Linked DNA regions of Homo sapiens: region 2 is linked to region 1. Evidence: promoter capture Hi-C in human tissues and cell types (Jung and others, 2019). All regions are on one chromosome and are shown on one strand. The core of a region is centred on a gene start or on the middle of the fragment in contact, and the rest is flanking DNA. Distances in the headings are between cores, read along the strand shown.

Region 1 (7,790 bases), core at 1,430-3,929:
CCCAGCTTGAAACAGGCAGTGAGCAAGGTCGCACGGGACCTTTAGAGCATGTGGCTGAGTAGGCCGGGCAGTGAGGGACATGAGTCCGACCCCGGGGAGAGCACTCAGCTGGAGGGTCTGCGGGAGCTGGGGAGAGCGTCCTGTGTCCCGAAGAGTCACTGGGCTTCCCCTCGTCCACCGCCTCATGTTCAGCTTCACAGAAAAGGGCCAGTGGCTTGGTCCTGGTCGTTGCCAGCATTCTCTAATCATTCAAAGGAATGCGTTCAGAAATACAGGGCCTCGTTTCTGGAAAAGCAGGTCCATTTCAGTGAGGAGTTACTGGGACCTTCCTATGAGACCACATGGGTGTTCGGTGCCAGTGCCAGCAACACAAAGAGAGCACCAGACAAGTCCCGGTGGCCCCAGAGACAGACAGGCCAACGAGTGCCCAGGAAGAAGCTGAGTGAGACAGAACTCTTGCAAGGGGACTCAGGAGAGAAAGCCTCCCAGACCTGAGACCTGGGGATAGCCCTGCAGAGAGCTGTGAGCTGTGCCTGTGGGCTGGCCAGCCAGCCCCTCCGGGCCGTCCGGTTTCACTCTGGCCTCGGCAACATGTTGACCCACGTCTTCGGGGCTCCTCAGCCTGGAGCCCACATGTATTTCTCTTTACCTGGCTATGTCTTGATATTCCCGTCTCTCTCCACCTGGGAAGTGAGGCCATCCCAGGCCACTGGGGATTCAACAAGAAAATAGACACACTTGTAAGGGTCCATGGTGTCTGTACACCCGTGGTCTCACATCTGGGTGTGGGGATCCCTGTCCCCTCCTTGGCTGCACAGTGAGGACAGAGCTGGTGCCCAGGACCCTAAACCACTGCTCATGTAAGAGTGAGTGTGGGCACTCCCTTGGAGCACATGTGGGTATCGGCCCTCAGAATGGTGGGGGAGCCACTGGCAATTGGCAGGATGCCCCAAGTTTGTCAGCCGCTGAACTTACAAGGTGAGAGTGACCTCCATGGGCATTGCAGGCCTCTCTCAGGACACTCGCAACCTATTCCAGGCATCAGGATTCTAGTTCTCACAGCACCTTATGGCCTGCTCATCCCAAAACCCACAAAGGCATTTCCGCCCTCACTGACACCCCCTTCCTACCCCTACGTGCACCATCACTCTCCAGCTAAGAAACCACATTAGTTACGCTTCAGCTGCAGTTCCAGTGAACTCAACGCCATCAGAGAAAGGATACAGACTCCTTGGGTGATGTTTTTGGCACATCTGGCTGCTTTCCTGGAATTGTCACATTGAGTTGCTTTTTCTTTGCAAACAGGGTCTAGAAACAAACTCTTATTCTTTATCACCAGGCATGCTGTCTAAGCCTGTCCCCCATCCTGTGTGCCCCACAAAAGCCATTCTCATCCCCTGACCTCCATGCCCCTCAAGCTGAGTTACTTCTCATATGTGGTTTGGTCTGTATGCACTTCCCAGGAAGTATTCTGAACCTGCACCACTCAAAGTATGGTTCTGAGACCGGGAACACAACCATCCTCTGGAAGCTGGTGAGAAATGTAGTTTCCCTGGCCCTGCTCACAGCTACTGGGTCAGAATCTTTGGGTGGGGAAACTAGGAACTTGCTTTTTAACGTGACATCAGGGGATGCTGGTTGCTTCTGAAGTTTACAAGGAGCTACGGATAAACATCAAAGGCATATTTCACAGGGACAAAGCTTAAGTCTGGTCTGTGAAGAGTGCATTATTCAGTCTTTTGAGAGCCCCATTTGCGGTTGGAGTTGGAGGCTATGTGGGTCTTGGTCGAGAACTCAGAATCTCCACCCACAAACTGTGCCGCAGAGTGCTGTGCCGGCTGTGGCCACAGGAGGGAACCCGTGACAACCTAATGGGTGCACTTCAGCCATCCCTGAGGGCATCTTCGTCTTTCTGGTTCTCCACTGCTCCAATTGCAAGCGGCCACCCGTCCTGGAAACACCTTTGAGGAATAGGGGCAGCCATAACTAGCCAGGCCCCTAGTACCAGCACTTGGCAGCGCGTCCCTGGGCTGGGAAGCTGCATTTAGGGAGGTGCAGAGAACAGGGTTGGGGGCTCCTGCTCTTGATTTCCTCAACCTCTGCCCACGACCCCCAGGCTGGTGCCCCCCTCCCGAGACCCTCGGGGGAGCAGACACCTGCAGGACATCCCGCCAATCCTCCCGGGCTCCCCGCCTCTCTCTCAAGAGGCCCAGTGCTTTCTCGGGGCGCTGTACCTGCTCACCCATGATACTAGCATCCACTGTCATCCCTTTCCATCCTTTTGTCTCTGCCTTTCCACCTAACCTCCCCCTCCCAGCCCACCCCCACTGCTGAGTCCAGGGCTCACCTTCCACTCATACCTCTCACACTTGTGTTCCTGTGCCGGGCTCTGACTCTGGGGCGCCCAGTAGAGGTCTCCTTTAGCCTGCGGAGGTGCTGGGGCAGCTGGGGCTGGGCCTCATGTTCAGGGCACTATCTCTCCCATTGCTAGTCTTTTCCAACCCACCTGCCTGGGTGCTGTTCCTCTCCCCTAAACAGGAGATGATTTAAACGCCTTTGGAAGAAGGGAGGCCATGTGTGGGAGAGACAGGGTGTAACTGCAGAGGTGAGGCCTGGAGGGAGGAGTTTCTGCCCCAGCAGGTGAATTTAAAGGCCAGACCTGAGCCCTGGAAGGCTCCAGTGGACGCCAGGGATCTGAAGGGCAAAGGCAAGGGCTGCTGGAGCCTGCATCATGTCGAGTCCGCAGAGGAGGAAGGCTATGCCCTGGGCACTGTCACTGCTTCTCATGGGCTTCCAGCTCCTGGTGACTTATGCCTGGTGTTCTGAAGAGGAAATGGGTGGTAATAATAAAATAGTCCAGGATCCTATGTTCCTCGCCACAGTGGAGTTTGCCTTGAACACTTTCAACGTGCAGAGCAAGGAGGAGCATGCCTACAGGCTGTTGCGCGTCCTGAGTTCATGGAGGGAGGATAGCATGGACAGAAAGGTTGGTGACCACATCCTCTTCTGGCCTGTCCTTCTCCATCTGCCCCTAAGTGAGGGACCAAGATGTCTAGTCTAGGAGACTTGGTTCACCATCAGCAGTCCATAGTCAGGTAGTCCACAACCAATTACGGTAGTTTTAGTTTTGGAAAACATTGAACTTAAAATTTTTTTTAAATTAGGTAAATGTCTATTCACATGCAAAATATATTTTTCAATCTTCATGATTTTTAAGACATTGTATAACTGAAGAGTGACTTCAAAATAAGGACTTCTAAGGAGATGAAGCTGACAAGAAGAGAAAATAACCAAAGAGACTGATAAACATTTCCAGGTCATAAAATGAAAATGGAAAAGCAAGGACACACAGAGGGAGAGAGAGAGAGAGACAGAGAGAGACAGACAGACAGAGAGAGAGAGACAGAGAGAGAGAGAGACAGGCAGACAGAGAGAGAACAGTGAGAATTCGAGGGCAATAAAGAACACCATCAGCCCTGAGAGGCCACCGTGAAAGGTTAGTTCTCTGATCTCCACCTTCTCTGGGCTCCTTGCTCTGTCTGCACTTAATGAACTGAAGGCCAATTTACACTCTTCCTCAATGGACCTTTATCCTAAAATGCTTGCCTTTTTGATGAAATCATTAAATGTGGTCAGGAATGCACAGTTCATCTGGGCTTCAGGCATGAACAATTAAAATGCCCTCCTAGTGGAGAACTTCTGGTTTAGAGAGAGAAGGAGCATTGCTCTTCCTTTCTCAGCACCAAGAGCCTGAAAGAAAGGCAGAGGGACTCTAGTACCGCACAGAGCTTAAGCTCTGGAAAGACTCTGTGCAAGGCTCTGGCTGGTTCTCTGCCTCCTGGGGTGGATTCCTCACTGCCATCCTCAGGATTCCAATGCTGGTACAGAGGAATTTTCCTCCTTGCTCATTTGCTGCCTCCTCTCAGGAGAATTAAAAGCCTGATGCAACCCTCAGAGGGGCATCTGGTCCAGTAATGGTGGCTGCTAATATTCATGCTGGAACCTTGGAAGTCTCAGAGATTGAGATTGGCCAGGCCTCATGCTTCTGCTTTCCCAGTGCTTTGCTTGATTCTCCAAGACCTCAGTGTAAGCCTCCATTCTTAATACCGTTAGAATAAAATCTAAGCTCCTTACTATGGTCTATAAGTCCTAAATGACAGTAAGTCCTAAAAGCTTTCCACATGGCTTCCTGGATATGGCAATCCCAGCATCAGTTTGGGGGCTGGGAAGAATAGATGGGTGAGAGGGAGGCTATGGAGTGGAATTAAATAGAATGGAGTGGGAAGGAGGGCAAGGAGAACTTCAGCATGCACTTTGCAATAGGGCAGATGGTATTTCTTGAACCCATTTTCCCAGGGTGTGTGCCTGTGTGTAGTGGGAGCGCTGTGTGTCATTCTTCTTGCTGGAGGTCACTTGGAAGGTTTGACAACACACTGTAGATGAGGCTCCCTCTGTCCCAGGGCTGAAGTTACCCTGAAAACTCTTGGAGATCCAACACCCTCCCGGACATGTGGCTCTGTCCTCTGGGAATGCAGCTGCAAGATCAGATGCCTACTGAGAGTGAAGCTGGAGTCTCACCGTGGGAAATGGGGGTGGGTGGAGGTGGATAATGTGTTAGTGGGGTCTGACTCAGCCTGCATCCTCCCCAGACCCACCATGCCCACCTGCTTTTTGCTCTTAACTCCTCAGTCTAGAGAAGATCCCCTGGGTTTCACCTCCAGTGAGCTGATGCCAGGCCCATGGGCAAGCTCTCAAATGCAGTAAAGTGTTGGGGCCTCTCCTACTCAAATGGCATCTTCACTAGTAGCTACTTAGGGGCAGGAAGACGGTGCATCCACTTTAATCTTCTTTTGTCCAACAGTGGCGAGGTAAGATGGTGTTCTCCATGAATCTGCAACTGCGCCAAACCGTATGTAGGAAATTTGAAGATGACATTGACAACTGCCCTTTTCAAGAAAGCCTGGAGCTGAACAACGTAAGACAGGGCATCAGCTTTCCTCAGGTCCACAGCTGTGGATGCTGCATGGGGTGTGGTGTGGGCACAGGAGCAGCTGACAAAGCCATTCCGAGGGACAAAGGGAAGTGAGCCCACAGCAGGCTGTACCAGGCTGCCCTGCTTGTGCCTTAGTGGGAAGCCCAGTGAGGCATTAAGCCCAGGGGTTCACTTTCAGGCCCCTGGCCAATCTGAGTTTCCTGATTCTGCCCTCTGACACCATTGCAGCTGCCTGCACCTGGGCCACATGGCCTTCAGAACCTTCTCTCTGGTCTTCCTCCCCACTTCTTCCCTGCCTTCTAGAGAAAGAGCCTGGAGACAATGGTGACAATGTCTGTGGGTACTTTTCTCAGGGTTTCCCTACCCTGCCCTAGACCCAAAAGTGGTGGAGGCTGAGAAGAAGCCCCACTGCCCTCGCTCCTAGGCCCTGCTGAGCTGCAGCACCTGCTCTAGGGGACGAGCTCCAAGCAAAGCCTGGCTCTGGGAAAACTTCCCATTCTTAGTCAACCCCCTTATTGTAAGATTAACAAATAGGTAACTAATTGCCTAAGTCTGGGAACTGCTTCCACTGGGACAAAACATTCTCCTGCTGCTCTTGGATGCAGGGATCACACCAGGACAGCCTGGGGTTCCCCTGAGGGGCACGGGCTGGAGGAGGAGGCATGGCACAAGTGACCCTGGCTAAGGAGGGAGGGAGCCTCAAATCACGTTGTAGTTCAGGATTGGCCTCAGGCTCAGGCTAGACCTGAAGGCCAGAGCCACGTGGCACAATTGCTGGCCCCAGGAATGGGCAAGGTGGAGATGGAACCTGTGTTGAGGGCAGATGCCACAAGATTCCCGAACCTCCCCAAACCCCGCCCTACTGTCTCTTCCTGTTTGTTCCCTCGGACCTTCAGCTGCTTCTTCACTGTTGAAACCATGCCCTGGAAGACATATTTTGAACTCCTGAACAAGACCTGCTCAGAGGGGCTCTCCTGAGTGGAAGCCACTCACATGCCTGGCCACATGCTGCCCCCTCCCCCGTGGACACCAGCTGTTCCCAGGAGTTGACATATCAGTGGCTGAGCAGCTCCGTGCATATTTGTTCTCTTATTTTGCAAGTGTCTGAGGTTTTATGACTTGGCATTTTAGAAAATCCTCACTGTCCAGGTTCCTCAAGTAGAATAGGTCATTAAACATCAGCATTTGCAGAAGCTTCCTGTGCCATGTTCTGGAGGGAGGGGGCTGAGCAGTTGATGGAGTTCCTCTCAGAAGGGCAGCCTATTTGCATCTGTGTCAGTGGGGTCCTCCCTCCCTTAAGACCTCATAAGCCAGCTTCCAGGTGGCACAACCAAGATAAGTCTGAGCTGCTGTCTCCATGCTCGTGGCTGATGATGACCCATGTGGCCAGAGGTAAAATGTCTGTGATCTTGCAGGACACCCAATGTGCACAACTGAGCAAGACAGGGCCTCTGGGTCCCACTCAGCACATGTGGCCTCTGTTCTCAAGGGGTGGCTCACACACCTTTCCTGGTTCGTGGAAGGTTGGTGGGAAGAGGAAGGACTTCTAGCCTCACCCTTATAAAGCTGTCCTGGCATCTGGAGCAGCAGCATCTTCTGAAAGAATCTTAGAAATGTCCAACTTCAGGGCCTCTGACCTTTGGAAAATGCATCTGCGCTCTTACAAATCCCCAGGGATGCAGAAATCCCCTGAAAATGCAGGATTTGCAGGAATGCACACCCCCAGGGGATGCAGTGTGAGAGGCACGGGCAGACTAGATGCTACCAAGACATTGCCCAAATCACCTAAACCAGGGTTTGGCAAAAAAATTTTCTGAAGAAGCCAGAGAGTAACTATTCTGGCCTTTGTGGGCAGATGGTCTCTCTCAGCTACTCAGAATTGCTGTCGTATCTTGAAAGGAGCAATAGCCAATGTGCAAACATGTAAGAGTGGTTGTGTTCCAATAAGTGTTTATTTACACAAACAGGCAGTGAGCTGCTTGGGCCTCAGGCCATAGTTACCAGTCTCTGATGCTAAGAGCTCCTCTGGACCCTGGTGCCCCTGAGACACACCATGCTACCAGCTCCCACGCCAGGCACCTGTATCTCCCCCAGCTTCACTCAGGGGTTGATCTGTGCAAATGAGCTCCATCAGCAGAGCAGGTGCACCCTGCAGGTGTGGGAAAGGTCACATCTGAGAGTCACATTCTGTCACTGGAAGTGAGCAGGTATATGTCCCAGTCTCCCCAGCCTCAGGGCACCCAATTCAGGGTTGAATTTCTGCATTTGCCTCCCAGCAGGATATACCCCTATGGTCCACAGTCTGGCCTCGAGAAAGAAACCATCACATCCTCCAGCTAAAAATTAAATAAAGTACTCTTTCTGGACAAGACTTAAGTTTCTTCTCCATGAAGATGCCTTCAGCATTTATCTGTAGTTACTTGTGAACTTCAAAGGGACTAGAATACCCTGAAGGCAAGTTCTAAATACCCTAAACCTAAGTTCTTATTCTCCCTATCCCCCAGGAATCTGAACCACTAGGTCTGGGCAGGGCCAGGGAATTTGCATGTCTCACCACCTCTCCTGGGACGGACCTGCTCCTGGTACCCAGACCACACTTGGAATGGTGCAGGTTCAGAAGCCATCATTGCGGGGTGCATGCAGACCAAACCACAAGTGAGAAGTAACTCACCTCAAAGGGCATTGGGATGAGGCTGAGAATGGCTTCTTCATTGCACGCTGAATTGGGGAAGGGGTCAGAACACTATGCCTGATTGTAAAGAAAAAGGAGAGTTTCTAGACCCCAGGCAACAGGACG
Region 2 (7,790 bases), core at 3,108-5,607, 70 kb before region 1:
ACTTCCTGAAATAAGGGCCTGGCACCCCTCCCATGAACAGAGCTTCTTGCAACAGCCATTTCTCCACTCTGCAGCAAATTTTTTTGTTCCTCACTGAGGGACATATTTCCAGGCATTTGGCCCATCTGCTCACCTAGATTAAGATCCTGGGTCACCCCTCCATTGCTGTGCAGACATCTTGGTGCAGAAGCACCCTCTTCACTCCACAACCAGGCATAATTTCAAGAATTCAGTACACCCCCTCACCTGGATTAGGAGTATAAGTTGCCTTTCCCTTCTAATGCGGAGATCTTAGTGCGTCTTTATTTTCCACTCCTCTCCAGGGCATAGTTCCAAGCACTCAGTGCACCTGCTCTACTGGACTGGAACCCTGAGTCACTTCTCTTGTCCTGTGCAGAAATCTTGGTACAGCAGTGCCGTCTCTGTCTTGCTCAGGGATATTTCCAGGCATGTTGAGTACCCACTTACCTGGAATAGGAACCTGAGCTTCCCCTCCCTTCTCATGCAGAGATCTTGGTGCAGACGCACCCTCTCCACTCCATGCTGGGCACATTCCCAGGCATTTGGAGAACCTTCTCACCTGGATTAGGAGCCTCAGCCACCCCTCCCTTCAGGTGCATAGGTCTTGAATCAGCAGCACCCACTGTGCTGCATGCCTGGACGTATCTTCATGCATGTGGAGTACTCGCTTTTCTAGATTAGGAGGGTAGGTTACCACTCCCTTTCCAGGCAGAGAACACTGGGCAGCAGAGGATTATCCCCTCCATACCCAGGCACATCTCTGGATGTTTTGCAGCTGCCTCTTTATCTGACTTCAGAGATAGTGCTTGCACCTACCACTGGTGGACATGTAGGCATGTCTGCATTCTCTGGCCCAAGCCAGCTTGGTCCCTCAGTCCAGGACTGTACAGGGAGCTCACACCACTGTGCATTCCACAACATAGCCCATTGCCTGAGGCAGCAGAAAGCATCTCGCCATAAACAAAGATCAAGTATATGCCCCATCTGAATCAGCCTTAGCTGGTTCTTATCCATAAGCACCACCCACTGGATTGGAAAATAAATGGCACAATCTAATAGAAAATCTGCTGACAGAAATGCATAGCACTGGAGAATGAGATAAACTTCCTGAGACCTCAGCCATACTGGACATGTAGGAGGCAGTGAACCCACTCATTTCTCCCTTCACCACTACTACAACCAACATCTAAGGAAGCCACCATACAAAGACTACCTATAACCAAGGAACATACACAGAACCTTTGACAATGAAAGCACCCAGAACCAAAGTTGAACCCTACACAGCACACATTATACACATTCTCAAGGGAGAAAAGGAAAAAACAAAAACATCCCTTCCAAATGAAAGTAAATTTAAAAATTAGAAACAGAGATAGCTTTACAGATGAGAAGGAACCAGAGAAAAAATTCCAAAAGTATGGAAAAGCAGAGTGTAACAATACCTCAAAAGGACCACACTAACTCTCCCGCAATGGGTCTTCATGAAAATAATTTTTCTGAAATGCTTGATAAAGAATTTAAAATGCCGATTTTAAAAATGCACAATATAATCCAAGAGAAAATTGAAAACCAAAATAAATCAGAAATACTATTCAAGTATCAAAAAAGATAGATTTTTAAAAACCCAAACAACTACTAGAAATAAAAAATGTATTGGTGAAATTTTGAAATCCAGTTAAAAGTATCAATAGTAGGCTTGACCAAAGCAGAAGAAATTATTTCAGATGTGGAAAGTAGGTCTTTGAAATTAACCCAGTCAGACAAAAATAAAGGAAAAAAATTAATGATTAAACATTTCAAGAAATATGGGACCATATAAAAAGCATGTAAAATTAGGAGTCACACATATTTCAGAGAGAGAACAAAAAGGAAAAAAATAGGAAAATCTATAAATGAGACAAATAAGGTAATTATATAATGATAAAGAAATTTATTGGGGAAGATCTAACAATTCCAAATACATTTGCACCAAACATTAGAACACCTAGATTCATAAAACAAATACTACTACACCTAAAAAAAGAGATAAATACCAATACGGTATTTGTATGGGACTTCAATATCTCACTGACAGAACTAGACAGTTTATTGAGGCAGAAAATCAACCAAAAAATTCTGGAATTAAGTTGAACTCTAGAGCAAATGGACCTAACAGATATTTACAGAATATTCTACCCTACAACTTCAGAATATACAGTCTTCTGGTATATGCATAAAACATTCTCAAAAATTTACCATATGCTAGGCCACAAGGAAAATTTCAATAAATGTAAAAAAATTGAAATCATACCAAATACCTTCTTGAACCACAGTGAAATAAACATACAGATCAACACTAAGAGGAATACTCAAAACTATACAAATACATGAAAATTAAATGATCTGCTTCTGAATGACTGTTGGACCAATGATGAAATTAAAATCGACATTAAAAAAAGTAAATGAATAAAAATAAAGATATAGATTGCAAAAATGTCTTAAAAACAACCAAATCAGTACTAAGAGGGAAATTTATAACATTAACTGCCTACATGAAAAAGATAGAAAGATTTCAAATAAGCAACTTAAGGTTATACCTCAAGAAACCTGAGGAAAAAAAACAAACCACACCCAAGGCTAGTAAAAAAGAAAAAAAGAATAAAAATCAGAAAAGGACTAAATGAAATTGAGACCAAAAAAAAAAAAAAAGAATCAATGAAATGAAGTTGGTTGTTTGAAAAGATCAACAAAATCAATAGACCACTAGCTAGATTAACCAACAAACAAAGAGAGGAGATTCAAACAAGTGCAAGCAGAAGCGATAAAGGTGTCATTACAACTGATACAACAGAAATACAGAAGATTATCAAAGACTACTCTGAGCATCGCTATGTGATCAAATGAGAAAATCTAGAAGAAATAGATGGATTTCTGGAAATATACAATCCCCTAAGTTTCAACCAGGAAGAAAAAGAAATTTTGAACAGACCAATAATGAGTAATAAAATTGAATTAGTAAGAAAAAAAAAAAAAAACTCCCAACAACAACAAAAAAGCCTAGGACCAGATGAGTTCATAGCCAAATTCTATCAGATGTACAAGACAGAACTGCTGCCAATCTTACTGAAACTTTTCCAAAAAGGGAATCTTCTCTATTCTATTCTATGTAGCCAGCATTGCGATGATACCAAAGATAGACAAGGACATAACCAAAAACAACAACAACAAAAAACTACAAACCAATATCTCTAATAAACATAGAAGCAAAAATCTTCAACAAAATGCTACCACACAAAATCCAGCAGCATATCAAAGACATAATACACAAAGATTGAGTGGGTTTTATTCCAGAGATGCAAGATTGATTCAACAGACACAATAAAAAAAATAGGATTCACCACATAAACAGAATTAAAAACAAAAATCATGTGATCATATCAAAAGATTCGGGAAAAGGCATTTAACCAAATGCAGCATCTCTTCATAACAAAGACCCTTACCAAACTAGGCATAGAAGGAACATACCTCAAAACAATAAATGCCATATATGACAAACCCAACGCCAACATCATTCTGAATGAAGAAAAGTTGAAAGCATTTTCCCTAAGAATAGGAATAAGGCAAGGATACCCACTATGACTACTCCTATTCAACATACTACCGGAAGTTCCAGCTAAAGCAATCAGGCAGAAGAAAGAAATAAAGTACATCCAAATTGTAAAAGAGGAAGTCAAATTTTCTGTTTTCTTTTATGTTATGATCTTATACCTAGAAAACCCTAGAGATTCTTCCAAAGACTCTTCGATTTGATAAATTTCTTCATGAAAGTTTCAGGATACAAAATTAATGTACAAAAATCAGTAGCATTTCTACATAACAATAATGACCAAGCTGAGAACAAAATCAAGAACTCAATCCAATTCATAATAGCTACAAAAAGTAATAAAATACCTAGAAACACATTTAACCAAGGAGGTGAAAGATCTCTACAAAGAGAACTACAAAATCCTGAAGAAAGAAATAATAGATGGCACAAAGAAATTTTAAAAATCCCATGCTTATAGATTGGGAGAATCAATATCATTAAAATGACCATACTGCCCAAGCTATCTACAGATTCAGTTAAATTACTATCATACTACCAATGTCATTCTTCATAGAATTAGAAAAAAAAATCCTAAAATTCATATGAAACCAAGAAAAGATCATGAATACCCAAAGTAATGCTAAGCAAAGAGAATAAAATTGGAGATATCATATTATATTGCAAGGCTGTAGTAACCAAAACAGCACGGTCATGTTATAGAAATAGACACATACTGAAAAATAAAGCCACACAGCTACAGTCAACTGATTTCTGACAAACTTGACAAAATTATATAAAGGGAAATCACATTCTATTCAATAAATGGTGCTGGGATAATTGCTGAGCCATATGTAGATTCATGAAACTGGCCTCTTACCTTCCATCACATACAAAAATTAACTCAAGGTGGATTAAAGACTTAAATGTAAGAACTGAAACTATAAAAATCTTAGAAGACAACCTAGGAAAAACTCTTCTAACTATTGATCTAGGCAAAGAATTTCTGATGAAGTCCTCAAAGTAAAATACAACAAAAACCAAAACAGAGAAATGGGATTTAATAAAACTAAAAAGCTTCTGCACAGCGAAAGAAATAATTATCAGTAAACAAACAACCTACAGAATGGGAGAAAAGATTTGCCAACGGTGTGTCTGACAAAGAGCTAATTTCCAGACTCTACAAGGAACTCAAACAACTCAACGAGAAAAACAAGAATAACCCCATTAAAAAGTGGGCATAGGGTATGAACAGACATTTTTAAATAAAAGACATACAAATGGCAAACTTATGAAAATGCTTAACATAATTAAATATCAGAGAAATGAAAATTAAAGCCACAATGCCATACCATCTTATACTAGTCACAATGGCTGTTATTAAGGAGTCAAAAAATAGCCAAGTGCAGTGGTTCATGCTTGTCATCACAGTATTTTGAGAGGCTGAGGTGGGTGGATCACTTGAGCTCAGGCATTCAAGATAAGCCTCGGCAACATAGTGAGACCTTGTCTCAACAAACAAGAAAAAAAAAATATCCAGGTGTGGTGGTGTGGGCCTGCAGTCCTTGCTACTCAGGAGGCAGAGCCAGGAGGATGCCTTGAGCCCAAGAGGTTGGGGCTGCAGTGACCTATGATCATGCCACTGCACTTCAGCCTGGGCAACAGAGGGAGACCCTGTCTCAAAAAAGGTCAAAAAACAAGATGTTGGTATGTAATTAGTATGACCTCTATAGAAAACAGTATGGTAATTTCTAGAAAACTAAAAATAGAACTACCCTTCAATCCAGCAATTCCACTACTGCCTATGTACCCCCCAAAAAGAAAGAAATCATTATATAAAAAAGCCTTCTGCATTTGTATATTTATTGTATCACAATTCAGAATAGCAAAGTTGTGAAATCAACCTAAGTGTCCATCAACACATCATTGAATAAAACAATCTGGTAGATATATACCATGGAATACTATTCAGCCATAAAAGTGAATGAAATTATGACTTTTGCAGCAATGTGTATGGAGCTGGAGGGCATTATCCTTAGTGAAATGACTCAGAAACAGAAAATCAAGAACTGCACATTCCCACTTATACGTGGGCGCTAAACCATGGACATGGACTTACTGAGTTGAATGATAGACATTGGAGGCTCCAAACGGTGGGAGGATAGAATGAGGGTGAAAGTGAAATGCTGCCTATCGGGTTCAATGTATCTTATTTGGGTAGTTGTACATTAAAAGCTCAGATTTCACCTCTACACAATATATCCATGTAACACAACTGCACCTGTACCCCTAAACCCATCAAAAATCTTTAAAAAATTTAGTTTTAAATAAATATATTTTAAATACCATACATCCTATAATTCAACAATGTATAGCCGATCATTAGCCACTGGTATTTCTGTCTACCAATGAGAATTACTGATCAACAACTTTTGTAATCATGCCTTCTCTTCATTTGTACTTTTTATTCCTTAAAATCTTGAGTTTCTTTTTTGTTCTACAGAGCAGTCCCCAAGGCAACTTGAAAGTGTGTCCTGTGCTCCACTTTTGCTTGATCTCTGTGCTTAAATAAATTCTCTTTCGACTGGAAAAAAGAATTAAGAGAAATGAATGAATGAATGAATACAAAAATAATTTCAAAACTAACTGAACAGTGTACACAGAAGCCTAACACAAGACTCTTAATGTTTATCTTATAATTAGTTATTAAAGTCTCTTCTTGTTTTCTTTTTCTGAATATAGAAGATCAAAGTGAAACCAATAGGTATACAGACAATACTTGGCTGTAAATCTATGAAATGTATGTTGACTAATTATACCTTTTTAAATGAGGAGAATTATACAGAACAAAAGGCCAAAGTATAGCCTATAGTAGACAGGCAATAAATATTTGTATTTAGTGGAAAATAAATAAAACTCCGTTTTACAAAAAGCATGGGATGTCCTATAAAATTAATGGAAGATACTCCTTCCCTTTCAAAAATAAAACAAAGTTTTAAAAGCGAAGAAAATTCTAAAGAAATTATAAAGATTGCACGCGCTTGGTTCCTAGTTTATTGCTTTTCCTCCTTACATATCTTCTTCCTCTCTGTTTAATTCTCTTTCTCCTTCTCTTGCTCTTAGTAAATAATCAAATGTTTCTGCCCTCATTTTATCTATATCTTGATTGTCAAAACCAGAACACATACCTATAAGGCAAGCACAACGGGTAGGAACACAGTGTCCAATCTTAAGAAAATATCTTAATCTTTCTCAGTCTCATTTCTCTTCTCTTGAAATGGTGGCATCAGTCAGGATGAGCTGGGTTATGCTGTGGTAACAAAAAAAGTATGAGGGACTTAAGACAGCAACATACCATTCCATTATTGTGACTGCTATTTGTATAGATGCACTGCATGTGTGTTGGGGGTGCTGAACTATGTTGTGCTCACTCTGGACCCCAAGATGATGGAGAAGACACCCTCACAATGGTATCAGTGGCCAAGGCAATGAGCACCAGCTTTCCCCAAGTGCAACTGGAAGTAACAGATGCCACTTATTCTTCTATTATATTGACCAAAGCAGGTCATGACTACAACAAACTCAAAGGAAGGGGAAGGACAATCCTGTCTTGTACCCATAAGAAACAGAAGCACTCAAGGGACAGCCCTAATGACTACCACAAATGCCCACTCAATCACACCAGGCAGATGTCTGTGCTGCCCACAGCACCGGGGTACCAGGCAAGCAAGAGCACAGCTCAGATCCCACTTTGTCCCTGCTCACCACCTCTGCTTCCCCAGACATTTTGGACATAGTGGACCTGAAACCAAATAATAGAAGTATAATAAAATATAGTGACCTCACAGGGGGGATGGCTCACGCCTATAATCCCAGCACTTTGGGAGGCCAAGGCAGGTGGATCACTTGATGTCAGGAGTTTGAGACCAGCCTGGCCAACGTAGTGAAACCATGTCTCTACTAAAAATTCAAAAATTAGCCAGGCATGGTAGCGCATACCTGCAGTCCCAGCTACTTGGAAGGCTGAGGCAGGAGAATCACTTGAATCCAGGAGGCGGAAATCGCGCCACTGCACTGAGAGATCGCGCCACTGTACTGCAGCCTGGATGACACAGTGAGACTCCGTCTCGAAAAAAAAAAAAATATATATATATATATATATATATGTATACAGTATCCTAAAAATGCCTTAAAGTACACAGAAAAA

Evidence for each region. Contacts are between HindIII fragments. The study calls those that stand out against the background at their distance.
Region 2: a contact is called between a fragment that was not itself captured here and the fragment with the promoter of CST9 in region 1, in 2 of the 25 tissues and cell types used here (heart left ventricle and thymus).

What each region holds. Positions count from the first base shown.
Region 1 is chr20:23,600,806-23,608,595 of GRCh38, reverse strand. CST9 (cystatin 9) reads left to right here and starts at 2,679. Exons shown (of 2, transcript NM_001008693.3): 1 at 2,679-2,986; 2 at 4,862-6,186. The coding sequence starts at 2,732. The coding sequence ends at 5,086. RefSeq lists an enhancer at 5,729-6,230. The HindIII fragment of the contact is 5,555 bases long and covers 1-5,180 here.
Region 2 is chr20:23,672,513-23,680,302 of GRCh38, reverse strand. LOC107985383 (a long non-coding RNA gene) reads right to left here. Exons shown (of 5, transcript XR_001754712.2): 4 at 6,772-6,893; 5 at 5,433-6,167. Among named protein-coding and RNA genes, the nearest start is that of CST4, 13 kb to the left of the region's middle. The HindIII fragment of the contact is 5,616 bases long and covers 1,550-7,165 here.